Regions from separate parts of the Homo sapiens genome. Here regions 1, 3, 4 and 5 are each linked to region 2. Evidence: promoter capture Hi-C in 16 types of primary human blood cells and fetal thymus (Javierre and others, 2016). All regions are on one chromosome and are shown on one strand. The core of a region is centred on a gene start or on the middle of the fragment in contact, and the rest is flanking DNA. Distances in the headings are between cores, read along the strand shown. Region 1 overlaps LAMA3 (laminin subunit alpha 3). Region 2 holds the start of CABYR (calcium binding tyrosine phosphorylation regulated). Region 3 overlaps LAMA3 (laminin subunit alpha 3). Region 4 overlaps LAMA3 (laminin subunit alpha 3). Region 5 overlaps ANKRD29 (ankyrin repeat domain 29).

Region 1 (4,508 bases), core at 1,182-3,681, 330 kb before region 2:
ACAGGTTGGAGATGCAGTCAAGAGGTGATTTTGCATCTTGAGTCCAAAGGCAATCTGTAGGCAGAATTCCTTCTTCCTTGGTGGACATCTGTCTTTTTCTCTTAAGGCCTTCACCTGATTGGATGAGGACCACTCACATGATGGAAGATAATCTGCTTTACTCAAAGTCTACTGATTTAAATGTTACTCTCATCTAAAAAATACCTTCACAGCACCATCTAGACTAGTGTTTGACCATTTGGCAACATAGTTAGCCAAGTTGACACAAAATTAACCACTGTAGAACCCAAGAACATTTCCTCAGAATTCTACCACTAGGTAGAGACTTAACCTCTGCAGACAGGCCAGCTGGGACTATGGGCCATGAGAGAAGACAGGTGGAAATGGCAGTAGGAGATCTGAGTGTTTGTCCTTCTGTCTGCCAATAGCTAGGGGAGCATTAGACACGCTTTATATGGAGTGGGTAGTGTCTTGTGGGGGTGCTTTATGCTATGTCAGTCATTCTCTAGTCTTTGTTCTGGATTTTTAGATCTTAGAGATCAGGGAATACAGTCAACACCCAACACCCAGTATCCATGGGGGATTGGTTCCAGGACCATCCATGGGCACCAAAAGGCAAGGATACTCAAGTCTCTGATATAAAATGGCACAGTATTTGCAAATAAACTACACACATCCTCCTATATAAATTAAATTTCTAGATTACTTATAATACATAATATAATGTAAATGCTACATAAATAGTTATATTACATTATTATTTTATTTGTATTATTTTTGTTATTTTTTAGTTGTGTATTTTTCTGAATATTTTTGATCTGTGTTTGAATGCATGGATCCAGAACCCACAGATATGGAAGGCTAACTATATGTGTTTTTGTATTTACCTCCACCGTAACACCTAGCAAGGGTGCTGCTGGAACACAGTAGGCCTTCAATCAATGTCTGCTGGATGGATGACTGTAAAATAGGAAAGTGAAATGATAGTAAATTCTCTGGGTCTGCAAGTACTTGTGTCTCTCTGAACAAGTCACATAGCCTGTTGAAACTCCCAGGTAATTTGTAAGTGAGTAAACTAGCCGAGTTCCCCTCCATCAGTGAGAGTTTCTTTTACGTTTCTGATGACAACACAGGTAAATTCTGTCGTTCACCATCATTTACTAAAAAGCACTTTCAGAGAAATTCACCATACATGGGCTGGGCTGTCACAGAGAATGAAAATAACATGGTCTCGTCCCTGTGGGGGCCCCATGCGCCAAGGCTTAGATTCCAAGGCTACCTGTAAATAAATTACCAGAACTGGGGCTTTACCTTATGAATCTTTTCTTTCCTAAGGCTCCAACTAGCATGGAATTTTTGAAACCTTGCAAACAAGGTTGTATCTTTTACTGTGTACACTACACTGGATAAAAATTTGGAAGTCAGATATACTAATTCATTGATTTTCATTAATTCAGTGTGGGAAAGTGTAAAGAGCACCTCCCCAAGCACTGGGGGACTTGGGTAATTAGAATAATAATGTTAATAAGTGTGAACACTTCCTGAGCATTTCGGCTGTGCGAAGCATCGTGCTCAATGCCTTATTGCTGATGATTCTCTGATAACTTCATAAAGTAGGTGCTATTATCAGCTCCAGTTTACAGAAGAGGAAACTGAGGCTTAAAGAAGCTAAGCAACTAGCCGTGATTGCAGGGCTGTTAAGTGGCACAGCTGGTACTGGAATCCAGATGTGTCTGACTCCAAAGACTGAAGCCCTTTATTAGAGACTAATCCATTGACTTTAAAAATGCCATTTAACTTCTGAACTTCACCATGTAATAATGGGATTCAATGAGATGCTCTCTCTAGTTTCTTTCAGTTCTTAAGATGTAGAACTCTTCAGCCGGAGAAGTCAGTCAGGTCAATTCCACTGCTCATCCCTCTCCAGAAGAAGGGTTTTTGCAATGCAAATGGGGACGACCTTGTGCAACTCCAGCCCATAGAAGTCTAGTCTCATAGAGACTAGTAGGGACCTGATCCAGTGGGAAGGGGGCCAAGAGGAGAATGAATGGCCAGCATCTGTTCTCTCCATCCACACGTGTTTATTCATCACTTAGCCAAAGATCATGGTAACAGCTTGGGGGAGGGAGGAAACTAGGATGCCTTTCCCATCCTTTTCAATGTTGCCTGCACCATTTTTTCCATGACTACTTAACTACACTAGACATTGAGAAAAGAGGTATAAAGAGAGGAGGAAAGAGAAGATCAGGGACAGTTGTAGGCTGATCTGGCCTGGAATGGCTTGCACTTGATATGGAATATCAAGTGGGATATGGAATTAAAGTGGCCCTCCAGTGAGTCACATCCCCCATCAGTTGTTCCCTGCATCCTCCTCCTACAAATACTGGTTTCTGTAGGTGAGCAGAATCCCCAAAACCATCACCCAGCACCTGCAAATCTTGCTGAATATGAAATTCATGACAGCAATAAAAACTAGCAGTTATTGAGTGCTCGCTATGATAGGCATTGTCCCAAGCTCTTTTAAGTATTATCTTATGCAATCCTCACAACAAGTTATCAAATAAAAATTAGTGTCACTCCCACTTAAGGAAGGAGAAACTGAGGCTTAGAGCAGTTGAGTGGCTTGTTTCAGGTTCCCGATCTCATAAGAAGTGGAGCTGGAATTTGTGTTTGGGTCTTTCTGGCTCCACCCTCATGCTCTGCTCCGGGACGTGGTTCTTCCCCCTCCCATACCTGCAACCCCCGCCTAAGTCTGATTGAATTCTTTCATCCAGCCTGCTGGTGTTCAGCCCTTGGATCCTACCAGATGCCCTGCAGCTCAGTGACTGGACAGTGTGAATGTCGGCCAGGAGTTACAGGACAGCGGTGTGACAGGTGTCTCTCAGGAGCTTATGATTTCCCCCACTGCCAAGGTAGGAAAGTCAGCAGATTGCTAGAGGGCTGGTTCCTCTCTGAAGTGTGTGCAGCCAGCCTCCCAGAGAAGCCTGCAAATCCCCCACAGACTCACCACTGGCCACCCCCACATCCTGCTTTCACAGATCTAGTCTGCTTGGTTCCTCACCTGTTCAAGTCTGGTTTGAAAACACGTATATCATATATGTACCCTCAAAGGAATCCAGAAATGATTTTTTTAACTAAAAATAATGTAAATTTCCATGTGCTATACATGTGGGTTTCTTGGTTCACATGTCAGTTTTCTGTGGATAGCATTGTGGCATAGGTGACTCCTTTGAGTTAAAGGGGCCATTTGTTGTCTTCTGTCCCGAGGCATCATGCCTTCTTTCGCTCCCAGCTTGTGGTGCTAATGCTGGCAGCACTGTAATGTTTCTAACAGATCCACTTGCCAGCAGGCTTAGCAGGACCTTTGCTGTGTTTCGGGCCTCTCTCCCTGCCCTCCTCTGGCCTTCTGGGGGACCGTGTCATCGTACTTCAGCCCAAGTGTTGGGGAAGGCGGGTGGGATGCACTGGAGTCTATGCAGTTTGGAGAGAGTGCACTGAGGGGGAGATGAAAACCAAGCCTGCAGCTGTGGGACGTGGTTGGTATTCATCCCTCTGTTGATATGAGAGATTAAGGCTTGCCCATGTACCATGGCAGAGGGGACAGAAATGAGATGTCCACAAATTTCCCTGGGCTCCCTGGTGTGTGCAGCCAGAGAGCAGACCAGTAGCTCTTGTCAATTTCGGAGAACTCTTGCTACTGTGAAGAGGTGTTTGTGGAAGGCTGACCCAGACTATCCATCAGGAGAATGTGGTTTCTCAGACCCCTTCCTGCGCTTTGAAGACAGGACTGACTTCATTTCCCAGAATCTTCCTAACCAGAATCCTCTGGAGACCAGGTTTCCTTGAGGGTGGAAGTTGCAGCAGGCAGTCAGAGGTGGGTGCTTGCCTTTCAAAAGGCCTGAAGGTCCCTAGGATGCGAGGGCATCCTGCATGGGTCTGCTCACCTCCATGGGCCTCAGGAGCAGAAGGAAGTGCTGTGGCTGCCTGGCAGAGAAGCTGAGCAGCCACAGTCATCCCAGGGCTAGATGGCAATGTTTGTGTCCTGGAGAGGAACCCGAGGTTGGGCATGGAAAACAAACAGCTGGAAATTTGTGTTGGGTATTACGGAAAAATGCAGGGAACAGGAGAACATCAGAAAAGAAAGAGAGGGCAGGGTGGCTCATGCTTGTAATCCCAGCACTTTGGGAGGCTGAGGCGGGAGGATTGCTTGAGGCCAGGAGTTGGAGACCAGCCTGGGCAACATAATGAGATCCTGTCTCTAGAATTTTTATTTATTTTTGATTTTATTTTATTTTTTTTTGAGACAGAGTCTCGCTCTGTCCCCCAGGCTGGAGTGCAGCGGCATGATCTCAGCTCACTGCGAGCTCTGCCTCACGGGTTCAAGCGATTCTCCTGCCTCAGCCTCTCGAGTAGCTGGGATTACAGGCATGTGCCACCATGCCTAGCTAATTTTTTGTATTTTTAGTAGAGATGGGGTTTCACCATGTCAGCCAGGATGATCTTGATCT
Region 2 (4,747 bases), core at 1,827-4,326:
AATTATTTACTGAATTTGCACTTTTCTGTCTCTGCCAACTAAAGTTAAAGGACAAGTCATATCTGATTTTTAAAATGAGCACATGCACAGGCATGCACACACACACACACACACACGCAGACACACACCTTTGCTGTGTAAACTTTTCCAGTGGATTTCTTCCTTAAGCAAATCATGGTGGCAAGTATTCAAATACGGTTTTCACTATGAAGATACACATTCACAAAATCATGATGTACTGTTTTGGTTTCTGCAGATGGTATATTTTGTAGAAAGAAAATTGTTAAATCGAGATCATCCAAGAAGATACATAGTCGAGGCAGATACTTTAGAAGCTAGAAGAGGAAATGCAGAAAGAGAGAAGGATAAGGGGAGCAAGAGAAAGTTGGTCCATAACAGATAATGCTCCTTTTTCAGTAAAGTATGCAGAAATCACCAAGAGCACAATTTAACTGGCTTTCTTGTGAAAGCTAGCAAGGGGGCTGATCTCTGTCACCTAGTTGACTTGGGTATGAAATAGAAGCAACACACTTGAAACCCAGGTGACCTCTATGTAATGCCTAATTCCTCCTCCCAGAGGCCAGTGGTTGTCAATTTCCGTGTTTTACATAGAGATTCTGGTTTGGTAGGTTCTAGGTAGGGCTTGGGAAGGCATTTTTAACAAGCTCCTGGGATGATTTCTTATGCAGGTGATGTGGATTAGAGAAACATTGCCCTATTCATCTTTTGTTAAGGATTTGGTAAATCTGGGAGAAGAGTCAAACACAAGCAGAATTATATAGAATTATATAGCAAGGATAAGTCATAGAGCATACATCATGGGGCCACTGAGAAAATGCTTCTAACCCACTGGCTTCCTAAAGTAGGAGATTTCTGAGATGAGTTCTAAAGGAGAAGCAGGATGCAGTCAGGTGAAAACACTTGCTGGAGCAGCATCCAAGGCCTTGGACCTAATGAGCAAAAGCACAGAGGTGATAAGCGACATGTGTGTTCAAGACTCTGGAGGGTCAAGTGGGAATCACATGGTGAGACATGAAATACGAGAGGTATGCAGAGGCCACACCCACAACCATGGACTTCCATAGGGTAAGGATTTGGGGTGTGGGAGAGGGGCAGTGGAAGGTACATTTGCGTTTTAAATCATTGGTGACCAAAAAATAACATACTGGTGATTGAAAGGGAGATGAACACAAGCCAAGATTGTGAAACCACATCAAATCATTAAGAGTTCAAGAAATCAAAGCAGCGATGGGCAGTGGTTTGAAAATTCTTGGTTAGATGTTTACATTGTAACAATTTGCATTTCAGAATGACTCAGCCAAACAGTCACTGAAGAAATGGAGAGTAAAATCTTGTTTTTTGAGTTACAGGTATTTCTGCATAATACCTTACACCTAATAGATGTTTGAGATGACCCACCAAGGTTACGTTAAAAAAACCATAAATGTCTCCAATTCCAAAAGACACCATAGATGAGGTACTTAGGATTTTCAGTAGCTCAGTTCATTATGTCTCTGACACCTAAATGTGTTATAAACCAAGCTATCAGAAATCATGACAGCCTCATCTCACTTTTATTTACATTACCAAAGTGGTGCTGGAGGCAAGTGATGAAGGATGAAAAATATCTGCAGACCCACCAACATACTCAGTCTAAAAGCATTTCTCCCTTTTTTTTGTTTTGTTTTGTGAGACGGAGTCTCGCTAATTCTCCCTTTTTAAGTATGTAAACTTCCCGAGAAGAGGGAGCTTTCCTGGCACTCAGTAAAATAATTATTAAGTGGATTAATGAATGGCACCAGATAATGCTGACTGAGGCCTTAACATTGCTTTTATTGCAAAGTGCTCTGGAAGCCCTAATTTTTTCTGAATTAAAAAATAGGGTTTTGTTTTATTTTGGTTTGGTTTTTGTTTTGTTTTGTTTTGTTTTTGGTCAGATATCTGCCCTGGCGATGCTCTTTGGTTTAAAGTAGTTGCTTTTTAAACATTTGAAGATGGATCAAAATTAAGGCTGCTTGTACTCTGATAATCATGATTATGGTGTTATTTAGAGCCCAGCCCAAATACCTGAGCCTAAATGAGTGAAAGAGCAGAGAGTGGGCGTTTTTTTGTTTTTTTTGTTTTGTTTTTTGTTTTTTTGAGACGGAGTCTCGCTCAGTAGCCCAGGCTGGAGTGCAGTGGTGTGATCTGGGCTCACTGCAACCTCCGCCTCCCAGGTTCAAGCAATTCTCTGCCTCAACCTCCAGAGTAGCTGGGATTACAGGCACCCACCACCACGACCGGCTAATATTTTGTATTTTTAGTAGAGACAGGGTTTCACCATCTTGGCCAGGCTGGTCTTGAACTCCTGACCTCGTGATCCACCCGCCTCGGCCTCCGAAAGTGCTGGGATTACAGGCGTGAGCCACCGTGCCCGGCAGAGTGGGCGTTTTTAAATGAAGCAGTATTCCTTTAGTTTGGTAAAATTGAGCTGAAGTTACACACAGTAACACCTTGACTTGTTGCTGACGGTGTGCTTTGTGGGGATAGTTGGTGTCTGATCTCAACTGTGGAGAAACAGGAAGTTTCTGGATTCATGCTGAACTCCCATTCCACAGGCGAGTTTCACAAAAGAAAAAGTGCTCTGTTGCATACAATTATTCACTGTGTGTCTACAACGTGGCAGAAATTATTATTCCTAAAGGTGACCGAAGAGAGCTATAGTTTATGGGGCCAGGAGCAATGTGTGGAATGGCGAGGCAGTGACAAGACAGCACTGCCATAAATCTCTTACTTTCTTTCCAAACGAGCTCTAATTTTAAGCTCAACGACCAAAGACGGAGAGGCAGTCGCTTTGAGCTACTCCTGGCTATTTGTTGGGAAATCACCTAAATCCGTTCAGATTTAGCCAGAAAAGGGGAAATAAGTCTCCCTCGCCGGCCAAATCATGGCCTTTGTCGCTTTCGGCTCCCCATTGGCTGCGGCCGCTGTGGCCCCGCCTCCTTGAGTGGTGCGGAGCTTTGTGATGCGGAGCTTCGTGATGCACGCCCCGATGCCTGCGGGGCTATAAAAACGCTCGCAAGCGCCAAGTCTCCTCAGGAGCCGCCGGCAAGGGGGCAACGAGGAAGCTCTTAAGAGCGCGGCCGGAAAGCAGGTGGGGAGAATCTGGAGAAAAGGCGCACCCTGCGGCCTCGGAGACCATTATGTCTCAGGGAGTCTCTCGCAGTGGGAGAGGTCGTCGGGGCAGGCGGAGGGTCCTCAGAGTCGGGGGTGGGGGGCCTGTGGGGCGGCCCCGGCCCACACCGGGGAGTGCGGCGACCAGACGGCCAGCTGCCGAATCTGAGGCCTCGGTGGGTCCGTCGCCCGCCTCTCTTGGACAAGTCCAGGCGATGTGAGCACGCCCAGCCTCCTACATTTCACTCCCGTCTCTCCCAAACAGACCTAGCGCAAAACGAGCACTGACACAGCGGGGGCCCACATCCCGGAGGTTCTTTAGGGAGAGGTCGGGGAGTGCGGTTACCTATGGCTCCGAAGTCCCCGCTGGCATCCTGAAAGGCATCGTATTTCTCGCTTAAGGCGTTACCCTTGTGGTAGTGGGCGCATGGACGTTTACAGTTGGGCGGGGCAGGATTTAAATTCCGCCAGTGGTGGACCAGTATTGGTGATAGGAGAGATCTGGGAAGAATTATTAAGCTGTCGCTTTTAAATAACCCTAATAGTGTTTGTGACAATTTTACCCGTTGACTTTTCTCAGCTTGCTTAGGACAGTTCTTTGTGGGGAACTGAACTGTAGGACGTTTAGCGTCCCTGGCCCCACACGTTCCCAAAGTCGGGGTGAGAACTAGTGGGACGGGGGATCATGGAGTGCATGGCCGCTGTCCCCACCTTTGGTAGCACCAACTGCTAACTGCCTCCTGAAAGGTTGTTGGCGCCATCATGGTTTCTGGGAGCCACTTTCTTTTTTATTCTTTTTTTTTTTTTTTGAGACGGACTCTAGCTGTGTCACCCAGGCTGGAGTGCAGTGGCGCGATCTCGGCTGTCAGCTCCGCCTCCCGGATTCACGCCATTCTCCTGCCTCAGCCTCCCGAGTAGCTGGGACTACAGGCACCCGCCACCACGCCCGGCTGATTTTTTGTTTTAGTAGAGACGGGGTTTCACCGTGTTAGCCAGGATGGTCTCCATCTCCTGACCTCGCCTCGTGATCCGCCCGACTCGGCCTCCCAAAGTGCTGGGATTACAGGCGTGAGCCACCGCGCCCGGCCTCTGGGAGCCACTTTCAAAACGGTCTATCTACTCACTTTGGGTACTTAAAGAAAATTAGACATATGATATATATGAGTATGTATCAAATATATATATGTATCAAATAGTATGTATGTATCAAACATGTCATGCTGCCTATGCCCCTTAGCATTTAGCATGTGGGACTGCGGAATCCCCACTTCTGATTTTTTAAAAAATTCTTTTTTTGTGAGTACACAGTAGGTGTATATATTTATGGGGCACATGAGATGTTTTGATTCAGACATACAATGTTAATCACATTGGGAATGGGGCATCTATCCCCTCAAACATTTATCCTTTGTGTTACAAACAATCCAGTTATACTCTTTCTGTTATTTTAAAATGTACAATTATTGACTATAGACACCCTGTTGTGCTTTCAAGTAGTAGGTTTTATTCATTTTTTATACCCATTAACCAGCCCCACTTTCCCCCTCCCCCACCCAGGCCCCATTACCTTTCCCAGCTTCTGGTAACCATCCTT
Region 3 (4,445 bases), core at 1,841-4,340, 350 kb before region 2:
CCAGTGCCGGGAGGATTAAGTGAGATGATCCAAGGGAAGCCCCCAATGCCTGATATGTAGTAGGGCTGAATTGATGTTAGTTTCTTTCCTTCTAAAAACTGGAAGGAAGAAATACATTTAATTCACGATTGTCATGAGATGGGAATCTATTAAATTGAAGTTATACTTTACAAAGCTCGGCTTTAGAGGGAAAATAAAATGTTTCCACAGGAATAGATGTTAAAAGAATGGTTTGCAAATGAATGCCCATCCTTACGTGTTTTTTTTAATGATATCTCTGACCTTTTGTGAATTTTTAAAAATTTCCCTTCAACGCAGTGTAGTCTTCTGCGTTAAGAATGTTTAACAGCCATAGATAATTAATAATCTATATTCCCATGATAGAAACCTAGGGGAAGGGAGAAATTAAGAAAGTGATGGAAGATGGAGACCCCTTCTGAAAGTTTCCTGTCTTCTGCAGGGTGTGACTGTAATCTGGAAGGTGTTCTCCCTGAAATATGTGATGCCCACGGACGGTGCCTGTGCCGCCCTGGGGTTGAGGGCCCTCGATGTGATACCTGCCGCTCTGGTTTCTACTCATTCCCTATTTGCCAAGGTAAGTGGGCAGAACATAGCATATTCATAATCAATCCCTCAAGATAAATTTCCTCCTGAGGAAATGCAGATCTTTCTGGCAGAGCTGTCTGGCTTGCAGTTTAATAAATGGGCCCCTGGCTTATATATGGATGTTACATGTGATGGTCCTACCTGGACCTTGTCACTTCCCTTCTTTCCAACCTTACCCTGCCTCCTCCCTGGTAGTTAAGCACATGGACTCTGAAATAATCTGTTTGGGTTCAAATCCTGGCTCTGGAGAGGAGGTGGTATCTGAACAGCATTTAGGAACCTGCCACCACTTCTCAGATCCTGTTGGGGCGGGTCTCCAGATGCCAGTTGGGTTTGCAAATTGGAAGTGTGTGAATAAGATTAGAAAGATGGGAAGGTGGATGACAGAAGGAGGCAGGGTGTTCTAGAGAGAGGGGACAGCACATGCAAACCATAGAGACATGAGACCACAAACCCCCTCCTCCCCACTTGTTTGTATCCTAGTATCCCATCCCGGCAAGGGTCGCTGAAGGGGGGATGGAAGGTGGGAGGAGGAAGTGTCTGGTCCGGTCCCTAGAGCATGGCAGGTATGCACTCAATGCTGGGTGAGTGAACACATGAATGAATGAATTTGCCCAAATTATTCTCCCCTGCCTCCTTTCTACTGTCTGACATTATTCTTCTTTCTGCAGACAATGGTGTAGGGGAAGGGAGGAGAAAGAGGAGAAGATTATCAGTCCAGGATCAAGGCAGGAAATAAAACACCACTTCAGACACTATAAAAAGAAAGAGATTTATTATAGGTAATTAGGTGCTAGCCCAGAGGAGTTGTTAAGAGCCAGAGCAGCAGGCTCTAGGCTGGGCTTCCAAGGAGGCCTCCAATGGAATGGCTGGGTTTTAAGCCCAGACTGCTATGTCCCAGTGCAAGGATGGGAAGCCCATGGTTGGTGACTTCATCTCTTGGCATCCAGGAAGCCAGAGTCAGAGCACAGCTGCATAAATGCTCAGCCAGCTACAGGATGCAGCCTCCTCCTTATTTCCCATCGGTCTAATCTTATTCACACACTTCCAATTTGCAAACCCAATTGGCATCCAGAGCCCTGCCCCAACAGAGTCTGAGAAGTGCTGTCTTTAGCTTTCCAGCCTCTGAACACTGGAGGATATTAGAATAGGTATTAGGTCATCTCACCTGCAAGGTCAGCCACACTAAGGAACTGTAAGCATGAAAAACTCCCTCCCCTAAGCTGGAGGACAAGGTAGTGAAGAGCAGGGGTGGCACTAGCTATCAACTTGGGCAAGTTACTTAACCCCTCTGTTCCTCAGTTTCCAAAAAATAGTGCCTGTCTCATAATTCATTGTTGTGAGGGTTACATATGTACTGACAGGTAAAGCTCTTAGAACTGAGGAAGTAATTGTTCATAAGTTAGCTATTCACTTGCACCTTTCTTCTCCTGACCTATACTTCCCTCTGCATCATTTTAAGAGCTTGTAGTCCCATTTCCAGCCATCTCCCTGTTTGTTTAAATGCCTGAATCCCATACCCCAAACCTTTCCTTTACCTGCTGGCTCCTGGTGTGCAAAACATTCTTGTGGCTGAAAATATATCAAAGGGTTTCTTTTTTTCCTCCTCTCTACCAGCCACAACTTCAGATTCATTCTGGTAGAATGAATTACAAATATTCTAACTTATTCATATGGACAAAGCTTGTGTTTATGGATACAAAGATAATGAATAAATAATACAACACTTTAAGAATGCTCTTTTCCACATTTCTCCACTACTAGAGCTAATTTATTTTAAGGTAGGTAGAAAATGCATGAATGTATTCATGACAAAGCAGAGGGGAGGAAGGACTTCCATAACAACAGAGGAGGGAGGTTGGTAGATACTCTTTTCAGTAAAACAGAAATTAACCAGTGAAAATATTTTAAAAAATTGTTTGAAGTCTCTGTTAATGGTCATAAGAGCATATAGCAAATGAAGAAACAATTACTTAAGAAAATTTGAATCTAGGTAAGAAATGAGAGTCTCTGTGACATTTCAGCCATGACCCCCTTCATTATCCATCCCCAAATCTGTTTTATAGAAGATCTACCCATATGTGTTGCCAAGAAGATGGGCACTCTCTTTATCCTGTGCCCCAGTTTGGGGCTATGGTTTGTTTCATTTTGGGAGGGGAAGGCCACTGATATTTCTCAACCTTCTGCAGTCCTGTATAGCAGAAGCCCTATTCCAGGTGGGCTCAGCAAAGAGGACCAGCTCTCTCTTACCCACCACCCCTCCACTTGTAGGGTAGTAGCTCTAACTTAGGCACTTCAGGCTGAGAATTCTGGGATCCCAATCAACCCTACCCAAGCTGGCTCATAGAGTAGGGATCTATGGTGGGAGAGGAAAACTGAGAAGACCATGGCGCCACCTCCACCTGTGTCCACTTGTAGAGCATAGCAGAATTTCAAAGAAAGAGGGAAGTGTGACCCATACATAGGGGAAGAAGAAGACAATAGAAACCACTTTTGAATGAGCCAGATGGTAGTCTTAGCAGACTTTAAAGCAGCTATTATAAATCTGTATAGAAGACTAAAGGAAATCATGGTTAATGAATTAAAGGAAGGTATGATGACAACATCTAATTGAATAGAGAATATCAATAAAGAGATAGAAATTGTTTTACAAAATAACCAAATGGAACTTTTGGAGTTGAAAAGTATAATAACTGAAATGAAAAATTCACTAAAGTGGCTCAACAGTAAATTGAGCTAGCAGAAGAAAGAATCAGCAAACTTAATGACAGATTGATAGAGATTGTGCAGTCTGAAAACAGAAAGAAAAAAAGAATGAAAATAAATAAACAGGCCGGGGGCAGTGGCTCATGCCTGTTATCTCAGCACTTTGGGAGGCCAAGAGGGGTGGATCACTTGAAGTAAGGAGTTTGAGATCAGCCTGGCCAACATGGTGAAACCCCGTCTCTACTAAAAATACAAAAATTAGCCAGGCATGGTGGCAGGCGCCTGTAATCCCAGCTACTTGGGAGGCTGAGGCAAGAGAATTGCTTGAACCTGGGAGGCAGAAGTTGCAGTGAGCCAAGATCGCACCATTGCCCTCCAGCCTGGGTGACAAGAGTGAAACTCTGTCTCAAATAAATAAATAAATAAACAGAACCTGAAAGAAATATGGGATACCATTAAGCACAACATATGGGTAATGAGAGCATCAGAAAGAGAGGAGAAAAAGGAATAGAAAAAAATAGCCAAAGAAATAATGGTGGAAAACTTACTAAATTTAATGAAAAGCCATCTATACAGCTAAGAAGCTTAATGAACTCCAAATAGCATAAATACAGAGGGATCCACACAGCCAGACATATTATAGTTAAAATCATAATTAAAATTTTGAAAGACAAAGACAAAGAGAAAATCTTGAAAGCAGGAAAAAAAAGACTCATTATGAACACAGGAACACCAGTTAGAATAACAACTGACTTCTCATTAGTAACAATAGAGGCAAGAAGGCAGTGAGAGCGTATATTCTAAGTGCTGAAAGTGGAAAAACTGTCAACCAAGAATCTCCTATCCATCAAAATTACTATTCATGATCAAGGCTAAGTAAAGACTTTCTCAGATGAACAAAAACTAACAGAATTCACCCAACCTGACTTATAAGAAATAATAGACATAATAAAGGATGTTCTTAAAGCTGAAACAGGTACCATCAAATAATAATTTGAATAACATGTAAAAATTACAAAAGAGAGTATAATTGAATATTTTTATACATTCTTCTCTTGACTGATTTTAACAGAAAGTATACGAACTGTATATACAAATACATACATACATACATAAATATGGGGCCTATATCA
Region 4 (4,902 bases), core at 1,873-4,372, 430 kb before region 2:
CCTAAGCTTGAATGTCCCAGAATGACACATCTGCTATAACAAAGCAAACAATCAAGTCAGTCTGGATTCAAGAGCAGAGACTAGCCTCCAGGGCAAACAGCATCCACCTTTTGATGGGTGAAATGGCAGGCACAGAGAGAGAGAGAAGGAATTGATGGCAGTCATCATTGGAGACTATTTATCACTTTTGCATTGTAAATATCTTCTAGTTTTAACTTTTCACTTTTTAAAGGTGTCTTTGATGAAGCAAACTTCTTTATACATATTTTATTTATTTATTTATTTATTTTTCGTAGAGACAAGGTTTCACTATGTTGCTCAGGCTGTCACCAACTCCCTGGGCTCAAGGAAACAAAATTCTTTTTTTTTTTTTTTGAGACAGAGTCTTGCTCTGTCGCCCAGGATGGAGCGCAGTGGTGCAATTTCAGCTCACTGCAACCTTCACCTCCCAGGCTCAAGCAATTCCCGTGTCTCAGTTACAGGCATGTGCCACCATGCCCAGCTAAAGGAAGCAAAATTCTTAATTTTAACATAGTCAGATTTATCCATCTCTTCTTTTGTAGTCAACGCTTTTTGTATCTTTGGTTAAGAAACCTTTCCTTGCTCTCAGTTCTAAAAGGTAGACACCTTTTTTTCTACTATGAGAGTTTGAAGTTTTATTTTTCACATATAAGTCCTTACTTCATCTGAAGTTGAATTGCATTTGCGACTTGAGTAGAACTCTGATTTTATTATTTCCCCCTGGATCTAGAATATTCCTTCCTTTCCCAGCGGTCTGACATACCACCTATGTTATATACTAAAGCTTCTTAAATGCATGGGCTGCCTGTTCTGTCCGATAGGTCTGTTTGTCTCATTTTGCCTTTCCTTAATTACAATAGCTTCATAATAAGCCCCGATTCCTTGAAGGGCAAGTTTCCTCCTCCCGGTCTTCTTCTTCAGCAATATCTTGGTCCTTTAAAGTTTCATATAAATTTTAGAATTATCTTACTGTACTTTAAGAAAGTCCTTATTCAGGTTTTCACTGGCATAATATTGTCTCTATAGCTTAATTTGGGGAGAATTGGTAAGTTTTTGATATTATCTTCTAGCTAACTCTCCATTTATGTAGATTTTCAAAATTCTGTTAATACTGTTTAAAATTTTTATTTGTCAAATTTCTTTTGAGATACTTGATGTTCTCTGAGACTATTATAAATGGCATTTTCTCTTTAATTAAATTTTCTAGTTGTTTGCTGCTACTCTACAGAGATGCAATGACTTTTTTATTTTAATGTCACATCCAGCTACCTTGCTAAAAATCTCCCAGTATTTCTAAAATTCTCTTTAGCAGATACATTTGGGTCTTTATTTTCTTTTTTTATTTTTTATTTTTATTTTTTTCAGAGTCAAGTTCTCACCCTGTTGCCCAGGCTGGAGTGCAATTGTGTGATCATAGCTCACTATACTACAGCCTCAAGCTCCTGGGCTCAAGCAATCCATCCCAGTCTCCCAAGTAGCTGGGACTGCAAACACATACCACCACACCTGGCTAATTAAAAAAAAAAAAAAATGTTTTTCTTGCTATGTTGCCCAGGCTGGTTTCAAACTCCTGGCCTCAAGTGATCCTCCTGCCTCAGCCTCCCAAAGTGCTGGGATTACAGGTGTAAGCCACTGTGCCTGGCTTCATTTGGAGGTTTTTTCTTTTTTCTTTTTTTTTGAGACAGGGTCTTGCTCTGTTGCCCAGACTGGAGTCCAGTGGTATGATCTTGGCTCACTGCAACCTCAGCCTCCTGGACTCAAGCGATCCTCCCAACTCAGCCTCCCAAGTAGCTGGGACTACAGGCAGGCACCACCACACCCAGCTATTATTTTTGTATTTTTAGTAGAGACGGGGTTTCTCCATGTTGCCGAGGCTGCTCTCGAACTCCTGGGCTCAAGCAATCTGCCCATCTTGGCCTCCCAAAGTGTAGGGATTACAGGCGTGAGCCACTGTGCCCAGCCTCATGTGGAGTTTTAATGTAAATAATTTTATCTTTAAATAAATAATAACAGTTTTATTTCGTTTATTCCAAATGTTATACATCTGTTTTTTTCTCCTGCCTTTAAAAAAATCCTTCTTGTTCTTGTCTCTTGCCCATTTTTTACTTTCAATTCTTGTGGAAAACACCAGGTTGAGTCAGAAATAGCAGAGACTTATAAATATATAAGACCTTTTATTTTGTGTATGACCATGAAGCAGTAAAGTTGGTATAAGCGTCTGTTGGAAGATATGGCTACAGAAAAAATAAAGTGGCCTGTCCCAGTGATACTCATGGGAAGGAAAGAGCCTCCTCAATGATCTTCCATCTGAGAAGTCCCATGGATTCTTTTCTCTTCTGCTCCACAAGTTTGATTGTCTTTTCTTTCTTTCTTTCTTTTTTTCTGGTGAATTAGCCAGCCAGACTCAGTTTAGATGATCCCAATTTTGTTGGCAACATCCAAAGCATTGTAATCAGGAGCCAGTTGAACATATGCCTTCTTCTCTCCATCAGGCCTAATCAGGGTGTTGACTTTGGCCACATCAATGTCATAGAGCTTCTTCACAGCCTGTTTGATTTGGTGTTTGTTGGCTTTAACATCCACAACGAACACAAGTGTGTTGCTGTCTTCTATCTTCTTCATGGCGGACTCAGTGGTCAGCAGAAACTTGATGATAGCATAGTGGTCAAGCTTGTTCTCCTGGGGGCGCTCTGCCGAGGATATTTGGGCTGCCTCTGGAGTCGCCGTGTCGTGGGCCGCCGGAAGGTGGGTGACGTGCAGATCTTTTTTTGTGTGGCTGTGGACACCTTTAAACACTGCCTTCTTGGCCTTCAAAACCTTCGTTTTGGCTTCAGCTTTAGGAGGGACAGGAGCTTCCTTCTTCGCCTTCGGCGCCATCTTGTGAAAAGACCGCAAGTTTGATTTTCAAAAGTATTGTCAGGTATTGCCCTTTTAAAAAGCCCCACGAGGTTATCTTCTCTCAAAACCTTGTTGCTTGGTGCCAAGGCTTTACTTGCAGGATTAGTCATAACCTTGGCCTCCCTGAGAAAGTTCTTCAACCGCAAGTCTACTTATCTAGGTAGCATGTCCACGTCGACTTAATTCTCCATGAAGAGCTCAAGAAAAATGATTAAGAAGGCTGCAAAGAGTTTTAACACTTAAGAAAGTCATTCTTCTGATTTTTTTTTTCACTTCTAGATCCACAGTCTGATTTCCTTTAGGGCACTACTAAATTCTTTTTGATTCTTCATATAGGTTGATTTGCAGTAAATATGACATTGAGATGTAAGGTAAAAATTACTGAAAGTTCAGGAGTAAAACAAATGAAAGAAAGGACAAGGAATACTTTAATAAAACGATTTGAATAAAAAATTTTCACCCTGACCGTTTAAGAGTAACTTAAAGAAGCCAAACTTTCTAATTATTAATTTTTAAATACATTATTAAATTTTTAGAATAAATTTTTCTTTCTTTTTAAAGTCAATGTTTACACTGATCTTTTTATTTTTCAAACAGAAAGTGTATGTTACACTTTTGCTTGTTAATGTTTAACTTAAGCTTGTGGACTCTTTGTTAGAAATTATTTTATATGGCAAAAAATTTATCACCTAAACTTGGCTAATACAAAGTTAATCCAGAAAAACCATCATCTAGGGCATTACTGGTTTGACAAGTTGTTTTTGTAGATTCTTTGCTGTCTGTCAAGGTTTTTTCCAATAGTCCTTAGAAATAAACAGAAAGTTTGACTCATTTTTATTACCTGGGCAAAGCTCGCTCCTTGGAATTCACCTTTAACTTATGTATCTATTATATCAGTCAGACTTCCAAATGTCAGTGTTGACACCTGTGATGCTGTCTTGCCTATACACTTATTTTTTAAATATGTGCTTTCAAATTATTTATTGCTCAGACTTGAAATATATATTTGATATATATAGTTTTTAGTGCCTACTAATTGTGAGATCAAGGGCTAACGTGAGTGCTAAAGCTCCTGAGCCTGTGTTCTTACCTAGTCTGCTGAATGACATGGACAGGAGCTGCAGAGGGACTGCTATATCAGCAGAAAGGCTAAGATGATTCTAAATGAAAGAGACCTTCAGGCTACTGTGAAGGCTACCATTTAAAACAAATTACAGGAAATAACGTATGTTAGTGATTATGCATGGATGTATAATAAACCAGAGTTGTAGCTGTTAGAGAGTTACAGGGTAGTGTTAACTTGTTATCCCTGGACTCTGGACTTAGGTCCTGATTCTACCATTGACCAGTGGTGTGGTTCTTGGGAAAATTACTTAACATTCCACTCTCTTTCCTCATCTGTAAAATAGAGGTGATAATAATAATCTTAGTATGAAAATATAAACTGGGTGGTGCCCAGTGCATAATAGGTGCTCTACAAATCTTCATCTTAATTATTATTATTACTTTGAAATTGAGAATCACTCTAACAACCTAGAAAGCACCTTCTGCATTCCTCACATCAATAATGTGGAGATGGAGATAAATGTAAATCATAAGCATTCCCATTTTGGGGAGAGATTTTGCTTCTAGCCAGATGTAAATCTTCTAAACTTTGAGGAATAATAATTAAATTCCCTCATCAAATAACTAAATGTTCTGGTAAAATGTTCTCTAGGGAGAAATAAAGATCATAGAAGGGAAAATACTGATAGTAAGTGTTTAGATGTCCTAGCTTAAAAGTTATTCATAGCTGGGTGCGGTGGCTAATGCCTGTAATCCCAGCACTTTGGGAGGCCGAGGCAGGCGGATCACCTGAGGTCAGGAGTTCAAGACCAGACTGACCAACATGGAGAAACCCCGTCTCTAATAAAAGTACAAAATTAGCCGGGCGTGGTGGTGCATGCCTGTAATCCCAGCTACTCGGGAGGCTGAGGCAGGAGA
Region 5 (4,903 bases), core at 247-2,746, 500 kb before region 2:
TGAAATAAGCTAGTCATAAAAGGCCAACAACTATGTATGATTTTACTGTGATTTTTTTTTTTTTTTTTTTTGAGACAGAGTCTTGCTCTGTCACCGAGGCTGGATGGAGTGCAGTGGTGCCATCTCGGCTCACTGCAACCTCTGCCTCCCAGGTTCAAGTGATTCTCATGCCTCAGCCTCCCAAGTAGCTGGGATTACAGGCGTGCACCCCCACATCTGGCTATTTTTTGTATTTTTAGTAGAAACAGGGTTTCACTATGTTGACCAGGCTGGTCTCAAAGTCCTGGCCTCAAGTGAGCTGCCCACCTTGGCCTCCCAAAGTGCTGGGATTACAGGCATGAGCCACTGCACCCAGCCTGCTGTGATATCTAAAGTAGTCAGAGTTATAGAACCAGAAAGTATGATGCTGGTTGCCAGGGGCTGGGGGAAGGGGAGTATGGGAAGTTATTATTTAATGGATACAGAGTTGTGTAGTTTTACAAAATGAAAAGAGTTATAGATGGGTGATGATGTTGGTTGTACCACATTATGAATGCATTTAATAAGACTGAACTGTACACTTAAAAATGGCTAAGAGGGTAAAGTCTACATTATGTGTATTTTACCACAATAAAAAACAATAAATTTTTTTTTGAAGTGAGGCAGAGGGATATTTGACCCAGAGAGAGGCCAATGTGACCACATAGGCAGAGACTGGAGAGCTGTGGCATTGAGGAGAGAGTGCTGACAGCCACCAGGGGCTGGAAGAGGCAAGGAAGGGAATTCCCCCAGGAGCCTCCAGTGGCAGTGCGGCACAGCCCACACCTTGATTTTGGACTTCTGGCCTCCAGATCTGAGAGAATAAATTCCTGATGTTCGAAGCCACCTAGTTTGTGTTAATTTGTCACAGCAGCCCTTGGAAACTCAAGATATTTGGTATAGTGTTTGGTAAACACTAGCATTCCTTAATACAGGGAAGAATTCAAATTACAAATTTTAGCGCCCCAGAGTGGAAGACTACTTGTACAAGAAGGAAAATAAGTAATTCACCCACAAACTTCTCCAATTGCAAGCCCAGAGTCAAAATGAGCTCAAAACATTTCTCAAAATGGGACATAATAACAAGAAACATCCTGATTCTAAAATTTAAACTGATCATGACATTCTGAGACACAGTTTTTAGCATCCTCCCTTCCTATCTACTTTTACAAGTCTACTCAAAGATTGGTACCCAAATCACTGTGTAATATGAGCAAAATAATGAACCATTCTTGTGGGCAACATACATTTTTCCTATAGAGTACTCTTCACTTCTGAGCTTGGAGCTTGGGACAAAGCTAATACCACACCTTACCAGACACAGTGAAAAGAAATCCCTTTTTCCATAGTTTACCCAAAGCTGTTAAGATGGTAGGTCTCACTCATGTGTGAAAAGCTGAGGACAGCCTGGCCTATAAGCTAGTGATCATGCTTAAAACTTGTTCTTAAGGGCCTGGGTGTCTCTGTGAATATGTACGTGTGTGCATGCATGTGTGGGATGGGAGTGGGGACAATAAGACCCACTGAGACAGGCAGGATCCACCCACTTGTTTGCCTGTTTTTAAATGTGGTCTAGAAAAAAAAAAGCCCCTTACTCAAGCTGTAGCTTGCCTAACTTCTCACTGATGGCAGTGGTGGCCTGTCTGGAGCAGCAGCTGCGAAGATGCAGGCTGCCACACGGGAGGTGCAGCTGGGGCTGCATGCTCCTCAGGTCCAGTGGGAGCTGGAAGCAGGTGGGAGCCCCATCCCCTATTGAGTTGGCTGTGCGGGAGCAGCCATGCCCAGCTGCAGCTCCGGTTCTGGGCATCCCTGTGCTCTCTGGGCCTGGGAAGCCCCCATTACCCCCACAGGCTTGGAAGTGCCTGCTCCTGCTCCCTGGCCTCTCCCCACTCCCGGCACCTGCTCCAGTGCGGAGCAAAGCTGTAGCCGAGCCTGGGTGCTGTCTGTCATGACCTGGCTAGGGGAGAGCATGCTTGAGGTGTGTATGCTTGAGGTGGTGTTGACATGCCAGCCTTGCCCCCCAACCTTGGCCCCCTCCGGACTTTGGGTGCTGACAAGCACAGGAGGGAGGCTGAGGGGCTGAGGGCAGCTAGGTGTGGGCCTGTAGGCGCCCCTTGGCAGGAACAGCCTGGGTGCCGTGGATGGCATGTTGATGGTGAGAGGCAGACACGTTCCCACCCATGGCTTCCCATGGACCAATCAGCACACACTCCCTCCTTTCTGAGCCCATAAAAACCTCTGACTCAGCCAGATTCAAAAAGATGTCCCGACTACCAGCTGCTGGAAGGATCTACCCATTGTGGGTCTCCTGTCCACTGAGAGCAGGACACAGAGGTCAGGACTACCAGCTACAGGAAGGAACTACACACTGTGGGTCTCCTCTCTGCTGAGAGCTGGACCCAGATATCGGGACTACCAGCTGCGGGAGGAGCTATCCATTTTGGGTCTCCTCAGATCATCAGGATGACTTGCCTGCGGAAAGGCGCTACCCACTATGGGTCTCCTCTCCACTGAGAGCTGAACACTTGTTAGGATGACCTGCCTGCAGAAAAGAGCCACCCACTTTGGGTCTCCTGGGAGGTGTTCTGTCACTCAATGAAGCTCCTCTCCACTTTGTTCACCCTCCAGTTGTTTGCATACCTCATTCTTCTTGGATGCGGGACAAGAATTTAGGACCTGGCGAATGACCCTGTTTATAACACAAACAGGGCTGAAACACGCCTTCTGCTTGCCACATTGCAGGCAATGAGGAGAGAGGAGCTACAGCCCTTTGGGGAGCCCAGACCTAGGGGCTCCCTGAGCCAGGGCTATGATATCCTCTTTGGGGCTCTGCGGTTCCTGGCATCTCCAAGCTCCCAGGCACCACTACATTCCCTGGTGCCTGCAGCGGAAGCCACTTGCGGTACATCTGGTCCAGCCACAGCCTCACACAGAGCTGGCACCTGTGCCAGTGGCTGGAGCTGCCTGCCTCGCCACAGCTGGCATGCCTGGTTGTGTGCAGTGGCTGGACCCCATGCTTGCTCACACACCTGGCTTGCCCTTGGCAGGCATGGGACCTGGGCTGGTAGGGTGAACCAAGTGCAACCTGCTGGGCCAAGTGGGCAGAATGAGCCCAACGGGCCTGAGCAACACTTGGGCAGAAGGCGCTGCTAGCCATGGAGGTTTCCAGCTGGCAAAGTGACACCCTAAGGATCCTGTGACAGCCAATCAGCAACAAAAGACCCAAGAAACTATCCAGAAGTTCTCACTTTAGGTGGGTAGGGACTTCCTGGGGCCCTGCATGCACAGTTAGACTTAAACTTCAACTTACAGTCACCTCTTCCTTATCTTAATGCTAAAAATCACACCTGAAGGTGGAGATTTAAAATGCTAATCTTACATGCAATGATTAAAAAGCATATTGAGCTACTGTGCAAGTGCTGTACATGCCCTGACTAAACCCTTCCCTGTAAAAAGACCCTATAAAACAAACTCACATACTTCTCTTGGGGAGCAGGCAACCCTTTTCCTTTCCATAAGGGAACCTGGTTCTCTTATGCACAAGCTAAACAAACTTCCTCTTTGCTATCTGACAATCTCTTTTGACTTCTATCCTGGGAGATTATAAGAATCTAGGGTGCTGATAACACCACCACTGAGGGAGAACATGTAACACCTTCCTAGTCAGATATAACCCACATCAGGCTGTGCCCTCAGCCAGACTCTGTCCCAGGAAGGCACAGGCATTGTGACCATTCACAGGGCCTTTCTGCCTGCAATGCAGGTGTGATTTTCTCCTTGGTTCCCACAGAAATAAGTGGGAAGCATCCTCCCACTGCTTTATTACAGTTGATGATGCTGGGTTCCGGAAACCTTAGGGAATTAATAGTTCTGGAGGAAGAAACTTGGCTAGAATAGGAAAACTCTCACCTTCTCAATAGATATTAAATTTTAGAGACTACCAAAGGTCTTTTCTAGAAGTTGTTTCTTTAGTAAGATAAATAATTTGCTTTTCAATAGGCTTTCTTGGTACATTAATTACATAAATCATTATTAGAGCAGTTTGAGCTGATTTTAGAACATACATACTACTATTAATCATTCTGTACCTCAATGCAGCAATCCATAAATAGGAGCTATACCTTAGTCTGGAATGTGAATAAAAGTTTTAAATATGTGTGCCTTACTTCAGGGCTTCATGCCAACTGTATGTGCAGCTCCTATGCCTGAGAGGTGTCATCAGCCAATTGTGGGTTCTTTACAGCAATAGTGTTTCAGGAACATTAGTTTCCAGTTTGTCTCTCTAGCAAGCTCTGTGTATCTAGAGAGCTGACCTAAGCAAGGAGTGGCAGGTAGTTTTTCAGGAGACAAATATTCTGATATTGCAAAGTGGATTAACTAACAATGGATCAAGGCAGAAGTCTGCCATAGGAGTAAGTTTCAAAGCACTGCAAGGCACTCTTAGCTTCCAAAACTGGTACAGGAGGCTGAGGTCTGCCTTTGGCTTGGCAGCCCTCTTGCCCCAGACTGACACAGTCTCAGGAAATTCAGGGACTGCCAGGAACTTACATAGCACCATCATTTGAGCCACGCAGGTTACCTTTAAGCTGAGTACACTTTGGTAAATCTTCAAAGGCTTTTGTTCTCAGTGCTACGAGAGTTTTCATCTCCAAGATTAGTTGAGCAATTGGAACCAAATGGATAAATATAAAACCATAGAAACCATAGACTGGCTAGAAATCAAATACTTCTCTCCTCTTCTAGCTGCTTTTCTCAGTTGTTTCAGAGAGATTTTTGTGCATGTGCAATTTGTCCTTCAGGATAAAGTTTTTAAAGTAAACCAGATCTGGACCATATTGTTTTTATTAGAGAAAAACTGTCTTTAAAGTTGTAATAAACAAAGACC

What was found. The method cuts DNA at HindIII sites, captures the fragments that hold promoters and counts their contacts. A CHiCAGO score of 5 or more calls a contact.
Region 1: a contact is called between a fragment that was not itself captured here and the fragment with the promoter of CABYR in region 2, in 2 of 17 cell types (non-activated CD4 T cells and total CD4 T cells). The highest score is 5.8, in non-activated CD4 T cells.
Region 3: a contact is called between a fragment that was not itself captured here and the fragment with the promoter of CABYR in region 2, in 1 of 17 cell types (naive CD8 T cells). The highest score is 5.9, in naive CD8 T cells.
Region 4: a fragment that was not itself captured here is called in contact with the fragment with the promoter of CABYR in region 2 in 1 of 17 cell types (total CD4 T cells); the score reaches 5.1 in total CD4 T cells.
Region 5: a contact is called between a fragment that was not itself captured here and the fragment with the promoter of CABYR in region 2, in 1 of 17 cell types (total CD8 T cells). The highest score is 5.2, in total CD8 T cells.

Annotation. Positions count from the first base shown.
Region 1 is chr18:23,807,592-23,812,099 of GRCh38, forward strand. It overlaps LAMA3 (laminin subunit alpha 3), which reads left to right. Exons shown (of 75, transcript NM_198129.4): 13 at 2,775-2,912. Among named protein-coding and RNA genes, the nearest start is that of LAMA3, 120 kb to the left of the region's middle. RefSeq lists an enhancer at 2,839-2,898. The HindIII fragment of the contact is 8,791 bases long and covers 1-4,508 here.
Region 2 is chr18:24,135,986-24,140,732 of GRCh38, forward strand. CABYR (calcium binding tyrosine phosphorylation regulated) reads left to right here and starts at 3,077. Exons shown (of 6, transcript NM_153769.3): 1 at 3,077-3,133. RefSeq lists an enhancer at 2,662-2,721. The HindIII fragment of the contact is 10,284 bases long and covers 1-4,747 here.
Region 3 is chr18:23,783,563-23,788,007 of GRCh38, forward strand. LAMA3 (laminin subunit alpha 3) reads left to right here. Exons shown (of 75, transcript NM_198129.4): 12 at 461-595. Among named protein-coding and RNA genes, the nearest start is that of LAMA3, 96 kb to the left of the region's middle. The HindIII fragment of the contact is 1,607 bases long and covers 2,288-3,894 here.
Region 4 is chr18:23,707,390-23,712,291 of GRCh38, forward strand. All of the region lies in intron 1 of LAMA3 (laminin subunit alpha 3), which reads left to right. It also overlaps the pseudogene RPL23AP77. Among named protein-coding and RNA genes, the nearest start is that of LAMA3, 20 kb to the left of the region's middle. The HindIII fragment of the contact is 867 bases long and covers 2,690-3,556 here.
Region 5 is chr18:23,639,479-23,644,381 of GRCh38, forward strand. All of the region lies in intron 3 of ANKRD29 (ankyrin repeat domain 29), which reads right to left. Among named protein-coding and RNA genes, the nearest start is that of ANKRD29, 21 kb to the right of the region's middle. The HindIII fragment of the contact is 9,898 bases long and covers 1-4,903 here.